Regions from separate parts of the Homo sapiens genome. Here region 2 is linked to region 1. The links are contacts of gene promoters, found by promoter capture Hi-C in blood cells and fetal thymus (Javierre and others, 2016). All regions are on one chromosome and are shown on one strand. The core of a region is centred on a gene start or on the middle of the fragment in contact, and the rest is flanking DNA. Distances in the headings are between cores, read along the strand shown. Region 1 holds the start of PPM1F-AS1 (PPM1F antisense RNA 1). Region 2 overlaps MAPK1 (mitogen-activated protein kinase 1).

The links. The method cuts DNA at HindIII sites, captures the fragments that hold promoters and counts their contacts. A CHiCAGO score of 5 or more calls a contact.
Region 2: a fragment that was not itself captured here is called in contact with the fragment with the promoter of PPM1F-AS1 in region 1 in 12 of 17 cell types (megakaryocytes, neutrophils, endothelial precursors and 9 more); the score reaches 15.4 in megakaryocytes.

The regions. Positions count from the first base shown.
Region 1 is chr22:21,936,314-21,939,872 of GRCh38, reverse strand. PPM1F-AS1 (PPM1F antisense RNA 1) reads right to left here and starts at 1,636. Exons shown (of 2, transcript NR_147620.1): 1 at 260-1,636. It overlaps PPM1F (protein phosphatase, Mg2+/Mn2+ dependent 1F), which reads left to right. Exons shown (of 8, transcript NM_014634.4): 3 at 193-341. RefSeq lists enhancers at 1-404, 405-1,212, 1,213-2,019 and a silencer at 1,502-1,661. The HindIII fragment of the contact is 1,993 bases long and covers 909-2,901 here.
Region 2 is chr22:21,772,605-21,776,163 of GRCh38, reverse strand. MAPK1 (mitogen-activated protein kinase 1) reads left to right here. Exons shown (of 9, transcript NM_002745.5): 7 at 3,182-3,291. Among named protein-coding and RNA genes, the nearest start is that of YPEL1, 39 kb to the right of the region's middle. The HindIII fragment of the contact is 4,906 bases long and covers 1-3,559 here.

The DNA.
Region 1 (3,559 bases), core at 387-2,886:
TGGTCCAGCTCCCCACCAGATGGTTGTGCGTCTGCCTTTGCTGTCCTGTGACCTTCCTGTCCCAGCTCCCTGAGGACAGGGGCCGCCCTGCTGGCCGTGACCCCTCAGCATGTGGGCTGACAGTTGGGGAAGGGGGGCTAGGTGTGGTCTCCTGCTGGGGGCTGCCCCTCACTTCCCCCTCCTCATCCCTAGGAAGGCCCCGCCACCACTTGCTGCTGCTCTGGCCCACGAAGCAGTTTCACAGCTGCTACAGACAGACCTTTCCGAATTCAGGAAGTTGCCCAGGGAGGAAGAAGAAGAGGAGGAGGACGATGACGAGGAGGAAAAGGCCCCTGTGACCTGTGAGTTCTGTTTCTTCTGAGGTGGCCCCAGGGCTGCTTAGCAGGCAACAAAGGGTGACGACATTGTGGGAAGCCCATTGATTGGGGTCCCTAAGGGTGCTGGGGCCCTCGCTCACAACGGCAGCAGAATCAAGGAGCAGAGAAGGCTTGCGGCCCCAGTGAGGTGGAGGGTGGCGGTCACAGCCCTCCACAGGTCATATAGTTCCCAGTCAGCCCACGAGGCAGGGGTGGGTGGTGCAGACACCCTCCTGTGTCCTGTCTGACTGAAGTTCCAGAACAGCCCAGGAAATTAAAGATGCTTATCCCGTTTCACAGAGGATCTCACAGGTGATCGATCTCTGGTCATGCAGCCAGGTTCAAGTGCCCTCAGTGTTGTAACTCAGTTAACATGCGCCCGGGCAGGCGAAGTCAGGGTTGGCCAGGTGGCATGCCAGCAGGTCTCGGGGCAGCAGCGTGGTCCCCTCAACGCTCGGGCCCCCTGCCTCAGCTGCCCCCAAGTCAGGATTCTGTTGGGTGGAGACGCTCTACGGTGTCCATGAGCCCCATGGTTAGATGCTGGTGGAAGCTTGTCTGTCAGCCTGCTCCTGGGACAGCCATAAGCATGGTGTGGCCAGGGGAACCCAGAAATGGAGAGGGCTGCAGATCCATTTCACAGAGGATATAATCATTAAAAAGCAGGGCTTTTATTTCATGTGACTTTCTTTCATTCTCCTAGTAATTTCATTTTATTATATTTCGCCAAAGTGTTGGTTGATGTTAGACCAGAAATACAGGGCGTAAGAATCGCAGGCTGCAGCAGGGGTGCCACAAGGGGGTAGCAACGTCCCACCCAGCTGAATAGTTGTCCCTGGACAGGCCAGCAGGCAGCAGAGTTGCAGTGGATTTTCCCTTCCTTGCCATTTCCTGTCGGCCATTTCCTTTCCCTTCCTTTGCCATTTCCTTTCCTTTCCCTGTTGTTCTAAATTCGGCATTACTAGTGCATGCGTGCATCCGGGGAAAAGGAACAAGGTGGGAGAAGAGAGAGAAAGCGAATACCCGAGGCCGCCAGCATCAGTGGGTGCCCGCGCTCTCCTCCTCGCTCTCGTCCTCTGCCCTCCGCCCTGGCTCCCTGCCCGCATTCCCTGGGAGCGCAGCCTTGCCTTAGCCTGGGAGACAGCTGTCCACAGTGACAGGCGGCCATTGTTCTCGGCCGAGCCAGCAGGCTTCCGGCCGGTGGCAGCTGCTGCTCCTCCGCTCTGCGGCCCCACCAAGGGGGCGCCGCCACCGCCCAGGCCCTCCCCGCCTGATGGGTCTCTGTCCGTCCACGCGGGAGACAGCGCCACCTGCCGGTGAGAAGGAGCGTTGCTGCGCCGGCACCAGCCCAGTCCTACGCTCGGGGCTCCTGCAGGCCTGGGAAGGAGGGAGGGCGCAGCTAGAAGGAAGTCTCGCCTGCCCTTGCTTCCCCGTCTGTCAGAGTGCCTCGCATGCAGGCCTGCCTAGCGGCCTTGATCATGCTCTCCCTGTCACGGAAGTAGAATGTAGTCAAGTTTTTGGACTCCAAGCCATTCTTACAAAATTGCGTCAGAGTGGGGATTGTATTATAAGAATTGCCACTGAAGAGCAGCGAGTGGCTGAAACCTCTGTGTGGCTGCCAGTCAGCCCCTCCCCGGTGACTGGATCAGCGAAGAATCCAGAAGCGAGGTTGCGGGGCTGCAGCCCTTGGCATGGGGAGTCCGTGGGCTGGGCAGCACTGCCTCAGCCGCTGGCCTTTCCTGAGCAGAGTCTAGGCTAAGCGGCTGTTGGAAATAGCAGTAGCACCCGGGGCGAGACCGTGAGCCACAGCGGCGGCCGGAGTCTCCCCCAGCCCGAGCTCAGGCCTGGTAAGCACCAGGAGCCCACAGTTTCCAGAGGGAGTGAGGAGGAGTCCATGGCATTTAGGGGCAGTTTTCTGGGCACAGTGGCCCTCAGACGAGAGGAAGAGGAGGCAGCGCTACAAGGACTGGCAGGACGAGGGGGGTTTCCTGCTGGTTTGCAGGGGATCCACTGGCCAAACTTGTGTGGAGCTGCCTTCCCTGAGCTGGGCCTGCCTGAATGAGTTCTCAGGCCCCTCCTTCACCCATAGCCTTGCCAGTCCCCAGTTCTTGCCAAATGCTTGAATAGGCCCCTGTGTTGGCCATGGCGGCAGCAGCTGGCTCTGGATGCCCCCACCCCTGCCTTGATGCATGGATTCCCAAGAACCTGTCTTTCTGTGACCTCCTGCGTGCATAAGCCCTCGCGTTCATGGTTCTTCCTCGGTGGCCCCCTCTGGCCTCAGCCCTTCTCCTTTTCTTCCACAGCCTCCGCCTTTAGGCAGGAGCTCTTTCCTCCTCTCAGTTCCCCATGTCCTTTGGGTGTGGCCTGTGACACTCAACTCCTGCCCTCGGCTGACTGGCCCTGATTCACCATGCTTGCCACATGCACCTGGGCTGGCAGGAGTTCCAGGAGAGTTTGTGCATTGAAGTGACATGAGTCCCTGAAGCCAGAGCCCCCATGGTTTCCTTTGGGCCTGTTACTGGTTGATCTTTTCTTGAGAAGCCAAGCTTAGGTAGGATTTGGGTATTTTTTCTTTTCAAATGAGTATTGTGGCTTATATTATTTGTTGCTACATAACAAATTGCCCCAAATGTAGTGGCTTAAAACAACAGACATTTATTCTCCCAGTTTCTGTGGGTCTGGAATCTGGGAGCAGCTTAGCTGGTTCTGGTCCAGGGTCTCTTACTGGGTTGTGGTGACATGGTTGCTGGCTGGGCTGGAGGGCCTGCTTCCACGGTGGTTTCAACACACGGCCACTGACAGGAGGCCCTGGTCCCGTCCCATGTGGACTCTCCGTGGCGCTGCTTGAGCATCCTCACAGCTCAGATTGAGCGATGAGAGGGAGGGAGGAAGAGAGTGAGAATACACAAGGCGGGAGGCGCAGGGCCTCTTTGTTTCGTAACACCTGAAGCACACGCAGTCACTGCCACTCTTCATCAGAAGCAGCCAGCTCCCACACTCAGCAGTGGGAAGTGAGCTCCACCTCGCAAAAGGGGAAGTCAAAGAATTTGTGGACATGCTTTAAAGCCACTGTCACACGAGACTAACACTTGTAATGAAAAACTGGGGAAGTATTAAGAAAGTGTACTTCAGGAAAAAGCTGTCCGTGGAACTGCCACGTGCAGGCCCACTCTGACACCTTGGTTGTGTGCTGTTCCCGCCTTTTT
Region 2 (3,559 bases), core at 478-2,977, 160 kb after region 1:
AAAAAAGGATGATGGATTAGAAGAAAGGGTTGGAATCAGGTTGTTACATACTATTTGAAGTTAAAGAGAAGGGCCAGGCTGGCCAGGCGCGGTGGGTCACACCTGTAATCCCAGCACTTTGGGAGGCCAAGGCGGGTGGATCACGAGGCCAGGAGTTTGAGAACACGCTGGCCAACATGGTGAAACCCCCGTCTCTACTAAAAATACAAAAAATTAGCCTGGCGTGGTGGCAGGCACCTGTAATCCCAGCTACTCGGGAGGCTGAGGCAGGAGAATCGCTTGAACCCAGGAGGTGGAGGTTGCAGTGAGCCGAGACAGCGCCACTGCACTCCAGCCTGGGCAACAGAGTGAGACTCCCGTTTCAAAAAAAAAAAGACAAGGGCCAGGCACAGTGGCTCACACCTGTAATCTCAGCACTTTGGGAGGCTTAGGCAGGAGGATCACTTGAGCCCAGGAGTTCAAGACCAGCCTGGGCAACATAGTGACTCCCCATCTCTACAGAAAAATTAATTTAAAAAAATTAGCTGGGTGTGGTAACATGTGCCTGTAGTACCAGCTACTCGAGAGGCTGAGGCAGGAGGATTGCTTGAGCCCAGGAGTTCAAGGCTGCAGTAAGCTATGATCATGCCACTGCACTCCAGCCTGGGCCATAGAACAAAATCCAAACTCTGTTTTAAAAAACACAGAAAGAGAAAATGTAGTATTCTGGAAGGCACTAGGGAAAGTCAGGATTTGTGGTCAGGAGTAATACTAGCCTCAAAGGGACTTCCAGTCTTTTAGGGGAAATAAAACCTGTATCCAAGTAAGCATCCACACAGGCAGCCATGATTCACACCATCTGAGTGTTACCAATGAATGCCCATGTGGCGTGGGAGGAGGGAGTCCGGACATTCTTGACTGTGGGATCCGCACCTGCCAGCTGCTTCCCGGTTCTCTCCTTTTCTCCTTCTGTAGCTATGAATAATGTAGAAATAGCACTTGCAGTAACAGAAGGCTGGAGATCTAGCTACTTTTCAAGTAGCAAATCTTTTTTTAAAAAGCTGTCTTCTTTGAAATTTATGCCTGGAGGTTTAAGGGCCTAGAATTTATTTAACTTTAAGGAACTAATGGATCTGTTTTAGAAATGCTTAAGCTGCAAAACATCCAGTTGGCTTGGAGTGCCTGTCTACTTAATACGAACAAGTTTGAGTAGGACCCTTCTGCCCCCAGTGGTTTAGAAGTAATACTGTTAGAATCTTATTGTGGTCCAGGCCTTCTGGACTTTTCTTAGCACAGACAGTATCTAATTGGGTGAAAAGCCAAATGACTTAATCTAGTTTCAAGAAAGTCCTTGAGAAAATGTCTGTGAGTTCTATGTGGGGAGGGCTGGTTGGGAGCAGGAAGCAAAGTGGGATTTATTACCTATATTATAGACCACAGGAATCTTTTTTTTTTTTTTTTTTTTTTTTTGAGACGGAGTCTCGCTCTGTCGCCCAGGCTGGAGTGCAGTGGCGCAATCTCGGCTCACTGCAAGCTCCGCCTCTCGGGTTCACGCCATTCTCCTGCCTCAGCCTCCGAAGTAGCTGGGACTACAGGCGCCCACCACCATGCCCGGCTAATTTTTTTTGCATTTTTAGTAGAGACGGGGTTTCACCGTTTTAGCCAGGATGGTCTCGATCTCCTGACCTTGTGATCCGCCCGCCTTGGCCTCCCAAAGTGCTGGGATTACAGGCGTGAGCCCCCGTGCCCAGCCAACCACAGGAATCTTAAGATTCGGCAAGGGTTGTGTGTCTTGCACACATATCTACAAGTGTTCCTTGGAAGTAGGATTTGAACCAGAGATTCCTGGGTTCTTGACCATCATGCGTCTTTGTCCTGACCCTTGAGAGGGCCACTTCCTAAACCTAGCCAGTTTGTGTGCCCACAGACCCAGGGTCACAGCTGCAGGCATGACCACCTCTTCTACTGCGCAGACACTCCTTCAGTCACAGCAAAACCTGTCTGGATTCTCTACTCTGAAAAGTTATCTAGGCTATAAAACAAAATATCATTATTCCGTAATTTCCTAAAGTGCACTTGTATGTATTGAAAAGATTATAGATAGAAACATACATAACTTTTAAATGTTTTCTATGCGGAATTTCTCATTATGTCCAGCATGTGGTTTACCATGTTTATCATCTCCTGTTGTCTTAAGGTCAGGGGTTGCAACAAGGGAGGTCAAAATTGGCCGGGGCTGAGCACAAATACACACCCACAGCCCTTCAGTGACCTCAGGCAGCAAGATGCCTCCCACCTCCCCCCAGCACCCAAGCAATCCCTTCGGAAGGTCTACTGATTGTTCTTAAGGGTTAGGAAACATTTTCTTAGTAAATAGTGAAAACTTACTTTTTGAAAGTAGTGGCTAGAAGTGATTCCTTAAACTGATCATGAGTATTAAATTGTACCAAATTTTACGTGATTGTTTATCATTTTAGGAATGGTGAGAAGGGACATACAATTAAATTTTAAAATGTTTTAAGAAGAAATAATGATATTTTATCATTCTACTTTGAGGGCTTAATAGTATGTGCTAATTTGCAGATGGATGAAGTTGACCTTTACCTACAAATAACCTAATAAGAAATGATCATTGCTGGCCGGGCGCGATGGCTCACGCCTGTAATCCCAGCACTTTGGGAGGCTGAGGCAGGCGGATCACGAGGTCAGGAAATCGAGACCATCCTGGCTAACACGGTGAAACCCCATCTCTACTAAAAATACAAAAAATTAGCCGGGTGTGGTGGCGGGCGCCTGTAGTCCCAGCTACTCAGGAGGCTGAGGCAGGAGAATGGCATGAACCCGGGAGGCGGAGCTTGCAGTGAGCCGAGATTGCACCACTGCACTCCAGCCTGGGCGACAGAGCGAGACTCCGTCTCAAAAAAAAAAAAAAAAAAAAAAAAAAGAAATGATCATTGTCAGAAAAGACGCTTCATTAAGTAGTGCCAGTGTTTTTGTTTGCGGTCTGCAATTGTCAGATGGTCGGTCCCTATGTTCACAGTCTCGGGAGGCTTGGAGATATAGTCAGCACCCTTTGTGCTGGCTGCTCTCTCTGTAGTCATGCTTAGCTCAGTTGTTTTGTGGGTAAGTTACTTAAACAGGAAATTGAAGTATTTCTGTGACTACTTCTGCTCTCACTACTGCAAAACCTTTCTCTTTATAGCTCTGGACTTATTGGACAAAATGTTGACATTCAACCCACACAAGAGGATTGAAGTAGAACAGGCTCTGGCCCACCCATATCTGGAGCAGTATTACGACCCGAGTGACGAGGTAAGAGCTCATGTTCCTGGCTGCTGCTTCAGGGACATAGATCAGCCAGCAGTGGACCAACCATATCTTGCTTAGATTTTCCTGAGATATACCTGCTGCCATACCCGGTTCTTCCAACAAGCCCACCTTTGCCTTGAGGACGAGTGCTGTGGGGCACAGCTTGAAATCCCTCCCCCCGTAACTCTGTCTATCTCAGAAGACTTCCTCCAGGCCACCTGCAACAGGTAGGGGCGGGGTAAACGCATGTATAAAGGGGACAGCTGCACCA